Linked DNA regions of Homo sapiens: all the other regions are linked to region 4. Evidence: promoter capture Hi-C in 16 types of primary human blood cells and fetal thymus (Javierre and others, 2016). All regions are on one chromosome and are shown on one strand. Each heading gives the region's core, a stretch centred on a gene start or on the middle of the fragment in contact. The rest is flanking DNA. Distances are from core to core; before and after follow the strand shown.

The links. Contacts are between HindIII fragments. The CHiCAGO score rates a contact against its expected background, and 5 or more counts as called.
Region 1: a contact is called between a fragment that was not itself captured here and the fragment with the promoter of GAB2 in region 4, in 1 of 17 cell types (neutrophils). The highest score is 6.1, in neutrophils.
Region 2: a contact is called between a fragment that was not itself captured here and the fragment with the promoter of GAB2 in region 4, in 7 of 17 cell types (activated CD4 T cells, non-activated CD4 T cells, naive CD4 T cells and 4 more). The highest score is 7.8, in activated CD4 T cells.
Region 3: a fragment that was not itself captured here is called in contact with the fragment with the promoter of GAB2 in region 4 in 1 of 17 cell types (activated CD4 T cells); the score reaches 5.0 in activated CD4 T cells.
Region 5: a fragment that was not itself captured here is called in contact with the fragment with the promoter of GAB2 in region 4 in 13 of 17 cell types (naive CD4 T cells, non-activated CD4 T cells, activated CD4 T cells and 10 more); the score reaches 11.9 in naive CD4 T cells.
Region 6: a contact is called between the fragment with the promoter of KCTD14 here and the fragment with the promoter of GAB2 in region 4, in 10 of 17 cell types (naive CD8 T cells, erythroblasts, non-activated CD4 T cells and 7 more). The highest score is 10.5, in naive CD8 T cells.

Annotation. Positions count from the first base shown.
Region 1 is chr11:78,104,569-78,107,631 of GRCh38, forward strand. ALG8 (ALG8 alpha-1,3-glucosyltransferase) reads right to left here. Exons shown (of 13, transcript NM_024079.5): 10 at 2,239-2,378. Among named protein-coding and RNA genes, the nearest start is that of NDUFC2-KCTD14, 26 kb to the left of the region's middle. RefSeq lists a silencer at 335-629. The HindIII fragment of the contact is 7,219 bases long and covers 1-3,063 here.
Region 2 is chr11:78,046,681-78,049,528 of GRCh38, forward strand. The region is part of intron 1 of NDUFC2-KCTD14 (NDUFC2-KCTD14 readthrough); the gene reads right to left. Among named protein-coding and RNA genes, the nearest start is that of THRSP, 16 kb to the right of the region's middle. The HindIII fragment of the contact is 2,295 bases long and covers 178-2,472 here.
Region 3 is chr11:77,988,935-77,992,030 of GRCh38, forward strand. INTS4 (integrator complex subunit 4) reads right to left here. Exons shown (of 23, transcript NM_033547.4): 2 at 2,174-2,365. Among named protein-coding and RNA genes, the nearest start is that of INTS4, 4.2 kb to the right of the region's middle. The HindIII fragment of the contact is 1,414 bases long and covers 658-2,071 here.
Region 4 is chr11:78,416,308-78,419,305 of GRCh38, forward strand. It overlaps GAB2 (GRB2 associated binding protein 2), which reads right to left and starts at 1,513. Exons shown (of 10, transcript NM_080491.3): 1 at 1,339-1,513. The coding sequence starts at 1,413. RefSeq lists silencers at 116-410, 873-1,002, 1,073-1,172, 1,283-1,902 and an enhancer at 499-1,253. The HindIII fragment of the contact is 5,597 bases long and covers 1-2,998 here.
Region 5 is chr11:78,148,678-78,151,655 of GRCh38, forward strand. It overlaps KCTD21-AS1 (KCTD21 antisense RNA 1), which reads left to right. Exons shown (of 3, transcript NR_102281.1): 2 at 300-416. Among named protein-coding and RNA genes, the nearest start is that of KCTD21-AS1, 10 kb to the left of the region's middle. The HindIII fragment of the contact is 9,693 bases long and covers 1-2,978 here.
Region 6 is chr11:78,021,900-78,025,116 of GRCh38, forward strand. KCTD14 (potassium channel tetramerization domain containing 14) reads right to left here and starts at 1,377. Exons shown (of 2, transcript NM_023930.4): 1 at 1,261-1,377. The coding sequence starts at 1,350. The region is part of intron 2 of NDUFC2-KCTD14 (NDUFC2-KCTD14 readthrough); the gene reads right to left. LOC124902723 (a long non-coding RNA gene) reads left to right here and starts at 644. Exons shown (of 2, transcript XR_007062795.1): 1 at 644-1,122; 2 at 1,635-1,823. RefSeq lists enhancers at 166-733, 734-1,303, 1,304-1,871. The HindIII fragment of the contact is 5,224 bases long and covers 1-3,217 here.

The DNA.
Region 1 (3,063 bases), core at 442-2,941, 310 kb before region 4:
TTTTGGCACAAGTTCAATTTAGTTGAGAATATTAATTTTTTAGTAGGAAATTTTAAGCAATCAATAGCATGTATCAAACTGAATCAGGGGTATCGTAAAAGAATCTTGCTTCTGGCCGGGGACAGTGGCTCATGCCTTTAATCCCAGCACTTTGGGAGGCCGAGGCGGGAGGATCACCTGAGGTCAGGAATTCAAGAGCAGCCTGGCCAACATGGTGAAACCCTGTCTCTGCTAAAAATACAAAAATTAGCTGGGCATGGTGGCGGGTGCTTGTAATCCCAGCTACTCAGGAGGCTGAGGCAGGAGAATTGCTTGAACCTGGGAGGCAGAGGATGCAGTGAGCCGAGATCGCGCCACTGCACTCCAGCCTGGGCAACAGAGCGAGACTCTGTCTCAAAAAAAAAAAAAAAAGAATCTTGCTTCCCTGAGTAATTGCCTTCTCCAAAGACAGGAATGTTGTGGGATTGGGAGCTGCCTAGTGGTGGCAGTCAGGGAAACAGGACTTGGAGTTTCATTTCCAACCCTATAGCTCATCTCTTGGACAATGCCCTTCACCTGCTGGTGTTTGGTGTGAATTCAGACTAAAGACATTAAAAGTTTTTGCTTTACTTTTTAATTTGGAAACTCCAAGCTGCTAAATAAACCCAGACAAGCCACATACTGGCCTGACAAATTTGCTTAATATATGTTCAGAGCTTAAATGATTTCTCAAGATTCAAGAAAAATATAAAGAAAGAGGCTATTATTACCATTTATTTATCTATTGGGTTTCAACTATGCCTAAACTGGACACTTACATTTAAAATGGTTTTTTTAGCATGGCATAGTGAAAAGATCATAGATTCAACATCATAAGATTCAGGTCCTAACTCTAATTCTTGCGACCTGTATGACTTTGGACAAGTCACAAACATTTTGAGCCCTAGATTCTTCAGATGTTAAGACAGGGAATAAGCCTGTTTTGTTGGCTCACATCTGCAATCCCAGCACTTTGGGAGGCTGAGGTAGGAAGACTGCTTGTGCCCAGTAGTTTGAGACCAGCCTAGGCAACATGGCAAGACCCTGTCTCTACCAAAAAGTAAAAAAAAAAAAAAGAAAGGAAAAAAAAGGGAATAATACCCATTTATTTTAACTATCTTTTTTTTTTTTCTTTTTTTGAGACAGGGTCTCACTCTATTGCCCCAGGCTGGAGTGCAGTGGCGCCATCTTGGCTCACTGCAACCTTCACCTCCCAGGTTCAAAGGATCTTCATGCCTCAGCCTCCCAAGTAGCTGGGATTACAGGCATGCACCACCATGCCTGGCTAATTTTTGTATTTTTAGTAGAGATGGGATTTTGCCATGTTGGCCAGGCTGATCTCAAACTCCTGGCATCAAGTGAACCACCGCTTCAGCCTCCGAAAGTACTGGGATTGCAGATGTGAGCCACCATGCCTGGCCAATTATCTTAAAGATTATTGTGAGGCGCAAAAGAAAGAATGCAAAACAAAAACAGTTCTGGAAAATCTGAAATGTAGTACAGTATCAGGTATTATTCCAGAATAGACTAAATCCTTACTTTGACTAACAACACTTAACAAGGAACCATGGGACCTTATTTTCAGACGGGATGACACCAAAGCCCAAGTTTTTTCTTTTTTTCATTTTTGAGACAGAGTCTCCTTCGGTCACCCAGAATGGAATGCAGTGGTGCGATCTCGGCTCACTGCAACCTCTTCCTCCCGGGTTCAAGCAATTCTCCTGCCTCAGCCTCCCGAGTAGCTGGGACTACAGGCATGTGCCACTATGCCCAGCTAATTTTTTGTATTTTTAGTAGAGATGGGGTTTCACCATGTTAGCCAGGATAGTCTCGATCTCCTGACCTCGTGATCTGCCCGCCTTGGCCTCCCTAAGTGCTGGGATTACAGGCGTGAGCTACCGCGCCCGGCCAGCCCAGGTTTTTTCTATAACATACTGTCCCTCAATGATCAGATCTAAAAGCCGGCTTTCATGGTACTTAATCACTACAGTGCTTCTTTCCAAAAACGCAGAAACAGAAATAGTACATGCATTTTTGCATACCTTCATGGGTCCAAGAATCTCAAGTTAAGCATCCCTGTCCTGTCCTAGTGGACATCTGTTCCTATACATCTTTGTTTTTGCCTATCCTGGTGAACATGACAAGAAGGGACAGAGCAAATAGAAAATAGGATCATTGTGAAATATGCCAAAATGCTCACTGGCTGAGCTATCTGCTTACCTCATTGGGAGAATTGCTAGAAGTATGGCTTTTTCATGAACATGCCACCCAAACATAAAGGAGCTCAAGGCACAAAGAGTTAGACATCGGAGAAAGCCTCTGGGCCCTTGGGGTTTAAACCAAAGACAGAAAATAGAGGGCTAGAAACAACAGGCAAAGATAAACTTCAGTATCATTTGAAACAGACTTTACAGAAACAGAGTTCAGGTGAATACAATTTGCATCATCTCTGAAAGACAGCCAATCTTAGACAATTCTTCATGAAACCGAATCATTCATCACTTTGTGCACAGTCTAACAAAAGTTAACATAAAAGCAACAACTCAGAAAAAATTGGCATTTGATGTGTATATATATATTTTTATATGTAAATAAATATATTTTATATGTAAATATATATATATATATATATATATAATTTTTTGTTTTTTTGAGACGGAGTCTCGCTTTGTTGCCAAGGCTGGAGTGCAGTGGTGCGATCTCGGCTCACTGCAACCTCCACCTCCTGGGTTCAAGCGATTTTCCTGCCTCAACCTCCCAAGTAGCTGGGATTACAGGTGCCTGCCACCACGCCCAGCTAATTTTTGTATTTTTAATAGAGACGGGGTTTCACCATGTTGGCCAGGCTGGTCTCAAAATCCTGACCTCGTGATCTGCCTGCCTTGGCCTCCCAAAGTGCTGGGATTACAGGTTTGAGCCACCGCACCTAGCCTTGATGTATATATTTAACTCATTAAAATTAATTCTACTGGCTGGGCATGGTGGCTCATGCCTATAATCCCAGCACTTTGGGAGGCCAAGGCAGGCAGATCACTTGAGGTTAGG
Region 2 (2,848 bases), core at 75-2,574, 370 kb before region 4:
AATCATCAGTATATATGTATGTATGTATCTTGCTATTTCATGCCTCTGAACTTTTGCTGAGGCTTGCATTTATTCCTAGAAAACATTTCTCACTTTTCCTTTTCTGTTGTTATAAGTACTTAATCTATTCAAAAATATTAGATGATGAATATATAAATATTCATGTAGCCATTACTAAGCTTGGGAAATAAGACCTAATGAATATAAAGTACTCATGTACGCTTCCTTTTTTCCCCTCCCTCCACCCAGATGGCTCCTTCAATTTGCTTTTTCATTCCAACGTTTAAGTTTGTGTTTACTACCTGTGTAGGTATAAAGAATATACAGATACATGAAATCATAATTTTGGGGGTTTTTTTGAGACAGCGCATTGCTCTGTAGCCCAGGCTGGAGTGCTGTGGCAATGATCACGGCTAACTGCAGCCTTGACCTCCTGGGCACAAGCAATCCTCCTGCCTCAGCCTCTTGAGTAGCTGGGACCATAGGCGCATGCCACCACACCCAGCTAACTTAAATTTTTTGTAGAGATGGGGTCTCTTTATGCTGCCCAGGTTGCAAAAATATTTTTTAGTAGAGATGGGGCCTCTCACTATGTCACCCATCTTGGTGTCAGACTCGTGGCCTCAAGCAATCCTCCTACCCAGGCCTCCCAAAGTGCTAGGATTACAGCCCACCATACCCAGCCAGAAAAATTTTAATAGGTATATATTTTATTAAATATACTATATCCTGGCCAGGCACGGTGGCTCATGGCTGTAATCCTAGCACTTTTGGAGGCTGAGGTAGGGGCATCACTTGAGGCCAGGAGTTCAAGACCAGCCTGGACAATGTGACGAAACTTATATTTCTTTTTTTTTTTTTTTTTTTGAGACAGAGTCTCGCTCTGTTGCCCAGGCTGGAGTGCAGTGGCACAATCTCAGCTCACTGCAAGCTCCGCCTCCTGGGTTCACGCCATTCTCCTGCCTCAACCTCCCGAGTAGCTAAGACTACAGGCGCCTGCCACCACACCTGGCTAATTTTTTGTATTTTTAGTAGAGACGGGGTTTCACGATGTTAGCCAGGATGGTCTCGATCTTCTGACCTCATGATCCACCTGCCTCGGCCTCCCAAAGTGCTGGGATTACAGGCGTGAGCCACTGTGCCCAGCCAAATTATATTTCTTGTCTCTACAAGAAATAAAAAAATTAGCTGGACTTGGTGGCACATGCCGGTAGTCCCAGCTACTCGGGAAGGCTGAGGTGGGAGAATCCTTTGAGCCTGGGAAGTTGAGGCTACAGCAAGCCGTGATTATGCCACTGTACTCCAGCCTGGGTGACAGAGTGAGATCTTGACTCAAAAAAAACAAAACAGGCCAGGTGCAGTGGCTCATGACTATAATCCCAACACTTTGGGAGGCCGAGGCAGGCAGATCACCTGAGGTCAGGAGTTCCAGACCAGCCTGACCAACATGGTGAAACCCCGTCTCTACTAAAAATACAAAAATTAGCTGGGTGTGATGGCTCACGCCTGTAATCCTAGCTACTCGGGAGGCTGAGGCAGGAGAATCACTTGAACCTAGGAGGCAGAGGTTGCAGTGAGCTGAGATTGCACCACTGCACTCCAGCCTGGGCGACAGAGTGAGACTCCGTTTCAAAACCAAAAACAAACAAAAAAATAAAATAATAAAATAAAAACAAAACAAAAATACAAGGCACCAAAGCAATGTAACAGGCGCCTGCAGTCTGAGCTAATGAGGAAGCTGAAGTGGGAGGATGGTTTGAGCCTTGGAGCTCGAGACCGGCCTAGGCAACATCGCGAGACTTCATCTCAAAAAAGAAAGAAAAAAAATACCATGGCATATAAAAACAAAATTGAAAGGGATGAGTGTAATAGGCACAATAATGGCCCCCAAAGATGCCACCTTCCTAATTCCTGAACCTGTAAATGTTAGGTTACATGGCAAAGGGAAATTAAGGGGGCAGATGGAGTTAAGATTGCTAATCAGCTGACCTTAAGATGGAAAGATTATCCTGAATTATCCAGCAGTACCCAATGTAACTGGAAGAGGGAGAACCAGAGAGGCAGCATGAAAAGGTGTTCCTGGCTTTGAACACAGAGGAAAAGATTACAAGCCAAAGAGTGCGGGCAGCCTCTAGGAGCCAGAAAAGACAAGGAACGAATTCTCCCCAGAGCCTCCAGAAAGGAGGGCAGCCCTGCTGACCCCTTGATTTTACGCTGGTGAGACCCATGTTGGACTTCTGACCTCCAGGATTATAAGGTAATAAGTGTCTGTTGCTTTAAGCCCCTAGGTTTGTGTTCATCTGTTACAACAGCAATACAAAATTAATACAAGGAGCGTGACCGGCAGCGAATCCGTATGGGTCTGCCGCAACCTCAGTTCTTGCCTCCTCAGCAGAAAGAATTCGACTGAGGCACATAAGGCAGAAGGAGAAACCGAGACAAGTCTTAGAGCAGGAGTGAAAGTTTATTAAAAGCTTTAGAGCAGGAAAGGAAAGAAAGTACACTTGGGGCTGAGTGTGGTTGCTCACGCCTGTAATCCCAGCACTTTGGGAGGCTGAAGCGGGTAGATCACGTGAGGTTAGGAGTTCAAGACCAACCTGGCCAACATAGTGAAACCCAGTCTCTAATAAAAACACAAAAATCAACCGGGTGTGGTGGCATGTGCCTGTAATCCCAGCTACTCGGGAGGCTGAGGCAGGATAATCGCCTGAACCTAGGAGGCAGAGGTTGCAGTGAGCCGAGATCGTGCCACTGTACTCCAGCCTGGGTGACAGAGCGAAACTCTGTTGCAAAAAAAAAAAAAAAAAAAAAAGAAAGTACACTTGGAAGAGGGTCAAGCCAATGACTT
Region 3 (3,096 bases), core at 115-2,614, 430 kb before region 4:
GCATTTTGATTTGAATACATCAACTATAAAAAGGTACTGGGAGAACAACTACAGAAATCTAAATATCAACTAATTCTTAGATGACATTAAAGAATTACTTAACTTTATTCATTAGGGTTAGGTGGCTATGTTAAAAAATAAAAAGTCCCTCTACTTTCTCATAGCAGTGAGAAAAAAAAAGAAAACAACAAAAAGGTATCCCTTTTTAATAGATATGTAATGAAATAATTAGAAAAAAATGACATATCTTTTTAAAAATTCAACAAAACAAGGCTGGGCGCGGTGGCTCACACCTGTAATCCCAGCACTTTGGGAGGCCGAGGCAGGTGGATCACCCGAGGTCTGGAATTCGAGACTAGCCTGGCCAACATGGTGAAACCCCATCTCTACTAAAAATACAGAATTAGCTGAGCGTGATGGCGCACTCCTGTAGTCCCAGCTACTTGGGAGGCTGAGGCAGGAGAACTGCTTGAACCCAGGAGTGCTATTACACTCCAGCCTGGGCAACAGAGTGAGACTCATCTCAAAAAAAATAATAACAAAATAAAATAAAATTCAGCGAAAAAATAGAGCAAATTTGGCAAAATACTAATAACTGTTAAATTCTAGGAATGGATATTTGGTAGGTCACTATAGTATTTTATCTACTTTTCCATAAGCTTAACAATTTGGGGGCTGAGTGTGGTGGTTCACACCTGTAATCTCAGCAATTTGGAAGCCCAAGGAGGGTGGATTGCTTGAGCCCAGGAATTCGAGATCAGCCTGTGCAACATAGCAAAGCCCTGTCTCTACAAAAAAAAAAAAAAAATACAAAAATTAGCCAGGCATGCTGCACATGCCTGTAGTCCCAGCTACTCAGAAGGCTGAGGCAGGAGGATCAATTGAGCCTCGGAGGTCGAGGGTACAGTGAGCCGTGATAGCACCACTGCACTCCCGCCTGGGCGAGAAAGCAAGACCCCATCTCAAAAATAATAATAGTAATAATAATAATGATTTTTGGGCTGGGAATGGTAGCTCACGCTTGCAATCCCAGCACTTTGGGAGGCCAGGGTGCATGGATCACTTGAGGTCAGGAGTACAAGACCAGCCTGGCCAACACAGCAAAACCCCACCTCTACTAAAAATACAAAAAAAATTAGCTGGGTGTGGTGTCACACACCTGCGGTCCTAGCCACTCTGGAGGCTGACGCAGGAGAATCACTTAAACCAAAGAGACGGAGGTTGCAGTGAGCCAAGATTGTGCCACCACTATACTCCAGGCTGAGTGACAGACCAAGTCTCAAAAAAAAAAAAAAAAAAAATGCAAAACTTAGCCTGGAGTAGTGGCACGTCTGCAGTCCCACCTACGTGGAAGGCTGAGCCAGGAGAATCACTTAAGCCCAGGAGTTCCAGGCTACAGTGACCTATGATGATGCCACTAAACTCTAGGCTGGGTGACAGTGAGCCTCTGTCTCAAAAACAGTTTTTTTGGCCAGACGCAGTGGCTCACGCCTGTAATCCTAACACTTTGGGAGGCCAAGGTGGCTGCATCACTTAAAGTCAGGAGTTCGAGACCAGCCTGGCCAACATGGCAAAACCCCGTCTCTACTAAAAATACAAAAATTAGCAGGGTGTGGTGGCACGTGCCTGTAATCCCAGCTACTAAGGAGGCTGAGGCAGGAGAATCGCTTGAACCCAGGAGGCAGAGGTTGCAGCGAGCCAAGATTGCACTACTGCACTCCAGCATGGGCAACAGAGCGAGACTCTGTCTCCAAAAAAAAAAAAAAAAAAATGTATTTTTAATTAAAAAAGAGGGCCACTGCAATTAGATATGAGGGCCATGAATTAGGAAAGGAACAGCAGGACCACATTCCAGAGATGAATGGGTCATGATTGATATTTACTCCTCTTTTGTGCTTCCACTGTACTCTGCACATACTGCACTCACAGTAACTTCAGCAGTATGATGCACCTTATCATTGACATGTCTTGTTTCCATCTACTATACACAGTATAACTTTCTGAGGTCAAGATCTGTATCTTTTTTATCTCGGTATCCATAGTACCTAGCACTTGGAAGACACTCAATAAAAGCTTCCTAATGAATACCCTATTTATTTGTAATATTAACCATTCTGCAGACATGATACAACTCCCATGATATACTCCCATCAGATCCTCAAGATTTTCTTACCTTGTAATAATGTTCCAAGAGAATCCTGACTACTCCCTCTACGCTTTCCGCCTCGACAGGCTTCCTGGCAAACTGGAGCAAGTATTGCAAAGCATCTGCTGGGGAGGTAGCTTTACACAGATCTATGTGGAGTGCTGCAGATTTACTTGGTTTTGTTAGTCGGAGTTTCTTAGTAGCAATTTCCTCCTGTGGCTGCAAGGGGTAGAGAAAATCGAAAACACAGAATCTGCAAATTTAACTTTGCCTCATTTGGTGGAAATGATTTTCCATTATACCAAATAATATATTTAGCTGATGGACTTAGGAAAATACAGTATTATAAACCAGAAAGAGTACCGGGTTGGTGACAAGGCCATGAGTCTCAATTTTGCCTTTACCAGTTCCTATGACTTTAGGCAAGTCATTTAATTTCTCCGAGTCTCAGTTTATGTCTCTGTAAAATAGGTATACTTTTTTTTTTTCTTAGAGATGGAGTCTCTCTATGTTGCCCAGGCTGGTCTTAACTCCTGGGCTCAAGCAATCCTGGCACCTCAGCCTCCCAAAGTGCTGGGATTACAAGCATGAGCCACGGTGCCCAGCCTTACACTAACATTTTGCTCTACCTATCTCTGAGGATTGTGGTAGCCTTTGGGTTTAGAGGTCACACAAAGGATCTACTCCATTTTTTTGAGACAGAGCAAGACACTGTCGCCCAGGCAGGAGTGCAATGGTGCAATCTTGGCTTGCTGCAATCTCCACCTCCTAGGTTCAAATGATTCTCTGACTGACACCCAACATGCTGGGATTATAGGTGTGTGCCACCTCCACCTACTACGTTCAAGCGATTCACCTCCCTGACTCCCAACTAGCTGGAATTACAGGTGTGTGCCACCACACATGGCTAATTTTTGTATTTCTAGTAGAGACAGGTTTTGCCATGTTAC
Region 4 (2,998 bases), core at 263-2,762:
AAGAGCCTGATTTCATTGACACACACTTGTACTCCGCAACAACAACACTTCCTTTGAAAAACAGAATGTCACTTCCTCAGTCCAGAGGCCAGAAGTCCCTTGATTCTGATCTGGGGAGCCAAGACAGGAAATTCTGGTAGGCTTCTGCCTCTCCCCCCATGGACAGCCACTGGTGCAGCTGACAGAGGGCAGGGTCTATTCCGAGCTCCCTTGATGCACTGCAGCTGGAGGCAACGGCTCCCTTCCAGGCTGTGGGAGTGATCCCGGAGTTCGGCACCACAGCCCGTTAAACAAGGGCATTTCATGGGAAACGGAGAGGGAGCAGATGAGAGACCTTGAAACCTTCCAGCAACCTTACCCCCACTTCCAAACTCCCGCGACTACCCCAAGACCATTTCGGCCAAATCTCAGTAACTGGCACCATCTTGTACTTTGACCTCACCAGGCAAGGCATCCTCTGGGGAGAGGGGTTAAAAAAAAAAAAAAAAAAAGCCAGAACTCCACGGCTCAGCGCCACGCTGTTCCACCTCCCCCAGGCTGCCAGTTCCCCACCTAGAGGGAAAAGGCTGTTCCAGCGATCTCAGTAAACACTGTCGGTTGGCAACACCTGGCCGCGGAGAGCCTCGATCTCTCCCGACCCCAGACACCCGGGAGCTGCCCGGTCCCAAACCCGGGCCAGCCACGGGGACCAAACTGCAGTGTCACACCGGGGTCGGGGGGAGGCGCCTGTGAGAGACGAACGGAATAAAGGGAAAGAAGGGGGACAAACAAATGAGTCACTTAATACAAGGGCTGCACATGCCGCTGACGCTGCCGGTGATGCAGCCGCGGACGGAGGGAGGCCGGCGGCCGGGAGGGGCAGGCGGAGAAAGGGAAGGAGAGGGCGTGAGGCGCTCGCCCTTTGTGGGGCCGTCCGCGCGGCCCCACAGCCTACGCCCCCCTTTCCCGCCCTCTCCCCGACCCTGCGGGCTGAAGCTGCTCGGGGCTGCCGCGGAGCCCCAGCCCCGAGAGTCAACTCTCTCGGTCTCCAGAAGCCATCAATACAAAACTTCGACACTGTATTTAGTTCACGAGCAGACCGGCTTGGGAGGCGCCGCAGCCGCACCCGCCTGGCGGAGCAGGAGCCGCAGCCTCAACCTGCCGCCCGCCCCGCCCCTCGGCGGCCCACCTGTGACAGGTGTGCAGGTGCCCCACACGCCCCCGGCCGCTCCTCGCCCCCGGCCCCCCGCGGCTCCGGGCCCGAGCTCCCCAGCCTGCCGCCCCTCCGGGAGTCCCCCGCCCCTCCGCAGGCCCCGGAGCGCCCCCCGCCCGCCCCTGGGCGGCCGCGCCCGCACTCACATAGCGCCTCAACTTCTTCTCGGGAGGCGATTTCCTCAGCCAGCCGGTGCACACCACGTCGCCGCCGCCGCTCATGCTGCCGGCCTGGAGCCCCCCGCCGGGTCGCGCGGACGAGGGCGCGGGCTCGGGCAGCTGGGGCAGCGGCCGGCGGTGCGCAGCTCGCGGGAGGCCAGGGGCGGGGCGGGCGGCCCGGCGGGGACTAGGCGGCGCGGCGCGGCGCGAGCCCGGCAGCCTCGCGCGCGCCCGCTCCCCCGCCCCGAGCGCGCGCAATCCGCACTCTCCGCCCGGCCGCCGGGGGAGCAGCTGCAGCAGGAAGGCCGGCTCGCTCGCCACGCCCGCTCCCGCCGCGCCCCCGAGGCCGCCGCGCACGCGGACGCGGGGCTAGGGACCCGCGAGGATACAGAAAGCCACCGCCGCCGGCGCGCCCCGGAGTCTCGCTTTCTCCTGAGGCCCCAAGCCGCGGGCGCGGAGGCCAGGGAGGCGACCGCGCCCCTGGCGCTGGCGGGTGTGAGGGGAAGGGACTGCGCGCCCTCGGTCGTCGATCGATTTTTCACCGAGCGTCGACGGGGAAGGGATACTAGGGCTGCTCACATTTCCGATACATTCTGCGGGTCAGGTTCCGGCTGAAAGGAGGGACCCCTTCCCAGCAAGAAGCTCCTTAACTCTGGCGTCCCTCGGCGGGAGGAGGAGACGGACCTACTACGCGCCGGAGCCTTTGCTTTTGTAGCTTACAGGATTGTCTTCAGTATTGTTCCTATTTTATGGACAGCCTAAGGGCAAGGGCTTGTACAAAGCCGAGCCAATTTTCCAATTCAGGTGTGTGGGGGAGGAGGGGTCCCGGTCATCTGCTATTCAAAATGAGGGCATTGCCTTAATGGGATCGACCTGGGAGCCTCTCATTGCCTGGAAACCAAGTCCAGCTGACTCCCTCCTACACTGCCTCTGGGAAAACACAGTTTAGTATAGAAAATTCGCATGATTTGTAGAATGGAAGAAGCAAAACTAGTCAATGTATTTCATAACGAATTGGAAGGCAAGGTCAAGTGCAGAAGAACAAGAAATTGGGGTCCAAATTCCCCAACGTTCCCGCTCATTGACACAGGCTATGAGACCTCTGTTTGTAAATATAATGGTATCCCAGATGTACGTGGAAGCACACAACCCCAGCACTTCAGCGGGAGGGGGGAGAAAAAAATCTTTTGTACGAGCTCTTTTCTCATCACAAAGTGTCTCTCTAAGCAGCATTAAAAGGCAGGTCCTCCCTAACTTCTCTGATAAGTGGATAGTAACCTGTTTATTCAATGGGGAACCGTGCTGTGTGGACAGATGAATTGGAGAAGCAGCATCTTGCAGTGCCCCACACAACCTCAGACTAAAGCTGTTTTGTTTATTTCTGTCTCTGTGCAGCTGAGTTGTTTCAAGCAGTTGGACATCATTTGGTCCAAAAGATCTTGATTGGGTTGGGGGAAGTTCACCCTCCTCAATTTGGAAAAGCGAATCCCCTACCACGTACTTAGCTCTTCTAGATACCCTGGGAGTTTTAGCGGTCAGTCCCCTGGATCTAACATTTCACTGACTTTCTTCAATATCCAGTGTGCTGCTGGATGGGAAGTAAAGCCAGAACTGGTAGGCTGGGACCACAGCTCCCTTAACCTTACAA
Region 5 (2,978 bases), core at 317-2,816, 270 kb before region 4:
ATGTATGTATGTAAGTGCAGTGGTGTGATCATAGCTCACTGCAGCCTCAAACTCCTGTTCTCAGGTGATCCTCCCATCTCAGTCTCCTGAGTAGCTGGGACCACAGTTACGTGCCACCACACCTGGCTAATTAAAAAAATTTTTTTTGTAGAGATGGGTCTTGCCATGTTGCCCAGGCTGGTCTTGAACTGCCAACCTCAAGCAATCTTCCCTCCTTGGCCTCCCAAAGTGCTGGGATTACAAGTGTGAGCCACTATGCCTAGCCAACATCTAAGATCTTTTTTTTTTTTTTGAGACAGGGTCTCGCTCTGTATCCCAGGCTGGAGTTCAGTGGCACGATCTCCGCTCGCTGCAACCTCCGCCTCCTGGGTTCAAGTGATTCTCCTGCCTCAGCCTCCCAAGTAGCTGGATTACAGGTGCGTACCACCATGCCTGGCTAATTTTTTGTATTTTTAGTAGAGATGGGGTTTCACCATTTTGGCCAGGCTGGTCTTAAACTCCTGATCTCAAGTGATCTGCCCACCTCGGCCTCCAAAAGTTCTTGGATTATAGGCGTGAGCCACCGCACCTGGCACAACAACTAAGATCTTTCTTCCCGCCTCCCTGCTCCCCCAGAGACAGTCTCGCTCTGTCAACCAGGCTGGAGTGCAGTGGCGCAATCTTGGCTCACTGCAACCTCCACTTTCCAGGTTCAAGTGATCCTCCCGTCTCAGCCTCCCAAGTAGCTGGGATTACAGGCGCGTGCCACCATGCCCAGCTAATTTTTGTATTTTTTTAGAGACAGGGTTTCACCATGTTGGCTAGGCTGGAAAACTAAGATCTTAATTTGAGTGCCAAAGGGTGTCCCACAGCTCCTTTCCTATATTTTGTTATTGGGGCGGGGCCAGGACACACATTTCAGTAATCTTTGCTTTTAAGGGTTATGAGGTAACTTAAAATATGGAAAAAAAAAAAACAGGTATAACACACAGAACCTTAGATTTCATTGTTGCCAAGCTCCATGTGAACTAGGATATGAATAGTAGCAATGATTCAATTATTATTAATAGCATACACTTACTAGATACCAAACACTGGGTGAAGTGTGATACATAAGTCATCTCATTTATGTAAACATTGTGAGGAAATAGAGCACTGGAGAGTTAAGGAACTCACTCGGGTACTCACTGCTGGTAAGTGATGCAGCCAGGATTCAACCCAGCCCATCAGATGGCAGCATCTGCATCTATAACCATTACACTATTTCTTTCTTCAAGCTCCCAATTTGTGTTCTGAGGAGAGACTAAATAAGGAAAAGAAAAAAATGTCTTCCCCTATTTAGCCACCAGACCTTTGCCCATGACTTGGAAGTGTTTGCTGTGGAGTCTCCTATCTTGTCTTTTTTTTTTTTTTTGAGATGGAGTCTCGCTCTGTCTCCCAGGCTGGAGTGCAGTGGCATGATCTCGGCTCACTGCAATCTCCTCCTTCTGGGCCCAAGCGATTCTCCTGCCTCATTCTTCCCAGTAGCTGGGATTATAGGCTTCCGCCCCAACGCCTGGCTAATTTTTGTATTTTTAGTAGAGACAAGGTTTCTCTATTGGTCAGGCTGGTCTGGAACTCCTGACCTCAAGTGATCCTCCCCCTTTGGTATCCCAAAGTGCTGGGATTACAGGCGTGAGCCACTGCACCTAGCCTCCTATCTTGTCTTCATGAGTGTTCAGAATTTTGTGGTGCACTGATCAGAAGCCCAGAGGAATCTAGACTTCATTGAGGTGCACCTTGGTATTTGAATCCCACTCTCTCTTTTTGTTTTTATTTTTTGGTGGAGTGGGAGGGTAGGGGCAGACAGAGTCTCACTCTGTTGCCCAGGCCAAAGTGCAGTGGGCACAGCTCACTGCAGCCTTGACCTCACAGGCTTAAATCATCCTCCCACCTCAGCCTCCGGAGTAGCTAGGACTATAGGTGCACCACCACACCTGGCTAATTTTTGTATTTTTTGTAGAACTGAGGTTTCGCCATGTTGCCCAGGCTGGTCTCAAACTCCTGGGCTCAAGCAATCTGCCCGCCTCGGCCTCCCAAAGTGCTGAGATTACAGTCATGAGCTACTGTGCCCAGCCCAAATTCCTCTTTATCAGCATCAGATCATATCAATATCAATTTTATAAAGACCATTAATATCAACCAGGAGAAGGATGAAAGCAAAATGTTCTAAGAGCAAAGGGACTGCTGATTATCATCAAGTGACCCTATTTCACAGGAAGAAAATGTGGATGACATTTTATGACCAACAGCATTGTTTATTTAACCTTGGAGCACAATAGAGAAAAACTTTTGACTCCAACCCCCAGTCCCTGAAGGCAGAAGTCTGAAATACCCTCTCAATTCTGTTTATGGCCTTAAAGCATTTGTCTTAGCCTATATTCTCCCCAAAGCAGGGCCTGAGACAAAGGCTTATGTGTGAGTAGTTTAATTTGCTGTGCTGATCTCAGGAAGCAGGAGCTATGCTTGCAGAAAATGAAATAGGGAGTGCAAATATAAGGATAAGATATTAACTACTACTGAGGACAACTGATTACTCAAGCATGGGAGACCTTCTGAGAGACCATATAGGATGCATTTAAGGACTGTCTTGCTCAGGGGAAGAGAGGGAGAAAAGGTTATCCATCAGTTTCCCTCTCCCATTGGTCAAGACTGGCCCTAGGGAACATTTATGTTTCCTGTAAATGAGTGCTAAGTGGACTCCCACAGACATCAGGCATGGCAGCTCAAAGAGACTGGAAGGCAGAAAATGAAAGACATGAGACGGGCCTGAGGCCAGGCATTTTCAGGTTACATCTTCATGAAGATGGTCACTGCTGCACAATGGCTGGAATAAGAGGTGAGACTGACAAGATATGAAGTGGGACATGAGAGGTGTTTGACAGAGTCCAACCCTTGCACCATTCAAGCCCACTTAAAATGCCCTTGTGTAAATTTAATTTGTCATACGGTCGTCTTCA
Region 6 (3,217 bases), core at 127-2,626, 390 kb before region 4:
CCTCCAATCCAGAGCTGGGCAAGCCCCCTCACCTCCAGAAGCTCACTCACTTGGCCATCCGCACTCCTTTCTCTGACCCCACTCATCCTTCAGATGAATTCCTCTGGGAGTCCTTCGGGGTGGGTTGTCTCACTGTGATCCCAGAAAGTCCTACACTACTATACTTCCACTGGCCTGGCAGTTCTTCCCTTGCAATTCCCTGTTTCTTCATTGACTGTGAGGTTCCTGGCCAAGTGCTGTGTTTCATGCCTGTAATCCCAGCACTTTGGGAGGCTGAGGTAGGAGGATTGCCTGAGCCTAAGAGTTTGAGACCAGCCTGGGTCTCACCAACATGGCGAGACCCCATCTCTATTTTAACAAACAAACAAACAAACAAAAACTCTGTGAGGCTCCTAAGGGAGGGGAATATCCTCTGATTTACAGGAGCATCTAGTATTCTGTTCAAGGCCAATCTTGCCCTACCTGGCATCATGCACAGTGCCTTACACTTCCCCAGTAATTCATTCAGGCATTTATGGAACACCTAGGGTGGTCCTGGCACTAGGCATGTGGCTTTGTCAATAGCCAACAACAATGACGTGATCATGGCCCTATTAGAGAGAGCCACGCTGCCCTGCTGCTGGATCTGCTTTCTCTTCCTCCAGGTCTTCAGGATGACTCTCAGTGCAGGAGAGAACCCGAATGTTCTGCTCCCAGAGTGCACGCAGCCTTTTCCCCATCCTCCTCCCCAACTCCCCTCACCCAAGCTGGGGACCAGGCAGGCAAGCAGAGGGATTTGGGACCCAGCCAGAGGGCAGGGGCAGGCTGAAGACCCAGCCAAGGGGCAGGGGCAGGCTGGAGAGGGCTGCAGGTGAGGGAAAGATCCTCTGGCCGAGCTGGTTGGATGGGCTTCTCCCACCGGGAGCAAGGGAGAAGGTGGGGCAGAGGAGGAGTCGTGGGCTAGGACAAGCCGGTGGGGAAGAGACAAGGGAAAGGAACTAAAGACCCAATGTAGAGGGAGGAAGCAAAAGGGCAAAGAGGAAAGGCTGGACAGAGCCAAACCAGAAAGGGACACCGAGGCGCGAAAGGAGAGTGATCCCAGCAGGAGGGACGGCAAAGATTGAAGAGAGCGACCAGCCCGAGGTGAAGGGGGACAGCGCGCCAGAAGCAGGGGGCTCGGGCGTCTGGGAGGGACGGGCAGGAGAAACTGGAAGGGAGGGAAGAGGCGGAGGGAAGAGGCGGAGGACAGAGGCGCGGGGACGCAGCTAGCCTCGCACTTACCGTTGGCCGCCTGGGCCGGGGGGACTGGGGCAGAGGGGTCTGGCTCGTCATCCTGCCCACTGGCCGCTCCACTGCGCAGCCCTGCCACATGCAGATCACTTGGGCCAGCGGAAGTGCCCCTGGCTGCCCGCCCCTAGGTGGGAACACCGAGGCTCAAGGCGGGACGGGGCTGAGCCAGGCGTGGCTTGCAGTGAGACTGGGCCAAGTGCAGAAAGAAATGGACAGTCTGTCTATTTGGGGCTTCTAAAAGTTGTTAGGCCCTGAGAAGGGCTGACTTTGGAGACCGAGAAATGGAGCAGACCCCTTAAGGACTGACCTTTTGATATAGATTAATTTCCTTCCTTTTCTTTCTTTCTTTCTTTTTTTTTTTTCAGAGACAGGGTCTCACTCTATCGCTCAGGCTGAAGTGCAGTGGCGGATCAGGCTCACTGCAACCTCAACCTCCTGGGCTCAAGTGATCCTCCCACCTCAGCCTCCCAAAGTGGTGGGATTACAGGCCTGAGCCACGGCAACTTGCCTCTTCCTATATTTTCTTTTACGCTTAAATAAATTACTTAAACATATTGCTTGAATCCCGTTATTAAAGTTGACATTAGTTAATGCCCCTCTCTGGGCCTCGGAGTTCCCAGTAGTGAAATGGGGGAGGCAGAAGGAATTGACATTGACTGACATTGACAACCAGAGACTTTCTATTCCCTACAGTCCTAGGGAGTGAAAGATCCGCAACACCCATTTTACAGATCAGAAAACTGGCGCTCTAGGAGGTAGGGTGGTGTTAAAATGTAAAGTCTGAGGATCAACAAAACTTTTTTAAGAGTATACTTGAGTAACAGGCAATTCTTGAATCGGGGAACACCAGATGGAAAGAGGTTGAGTGTTCCCATGACAATGCATCAGAGGCAAATATTTATGGGGAGAATATGGAAGCAAGATATTTTGTTGGGGACAGGCATGGTGGCTCACGCCTGTAATCCTAGCACTTTGGGAGGCCAAAGCGGACAGATCATTTGAGGTCAGAAGTTCGAGACCAGCCTGACCAAAATGGTGAAACCCCGTCTCTACTGAAAATACAAAAATTAGCTGGGTGTGATGGCATGTGCCTGTAATCCCAGATACTGTGGACGCTGAGGCAGGAGAATCGCTGGAACCCGGGAGGCAGAGATTGTAGTGAGCTAAGATTGCACCACTGAACTCCAGCCTGGGCAACAAAGATTCCCTCTCAAAAAAAAAAAAAAAAAATATATATATATATACACACACACACACACACACACACACACACACACATATATATATATATACATATATATATATAAAATTGGTTACAGTTAAAAAATCTCCTTTTTTGGTTTCCTTTGTTGAAAAGTCCACAGCTACTTAATTGTATGTTAGTTGGCTGCTTGTGGTTGGCTAATGTTAAGTTTCGTTTCTGTCTAACATTAGCATTTACCAGAAATGACTCTATTAGTCAGGGTTCTACAGAGGGACAGAACTAACGGAATAGGGTTGGACACGGTTGCTCACGCCTGTAATCTCAGCACTTTGGGAGGCCATGGCAGGTGGATCACCTGAGGTTAGGAGTTCGAGACCAGCCTGACTAACATGGCGAAACCCCATCTCTACAAAATACAAAAAATTAGCTGGGCGTGGTGGTGGGCACCTGTAATCCCAGCTACTTGGGAGGCTGAGGCAGAAGAATCGCTTGAACCTAGGAGACGGAGGTTGCAGTGAGCTGAGATCAAGCCATTGCACTCCAGCCTGGGCAACAAGAGTGTAATCCCATCTCAAAAAACAATAATAATAAAATAAAACTAATGGTATATATACATACACATATATTTGTATATATATATTCCATTACTTTTTTAACTCCCCGTTATATATATACATATGTGTGTATATATACACACACACATATATACACACGTGTGTGTGTGTGTGTGTGTGTGTGTGTGTG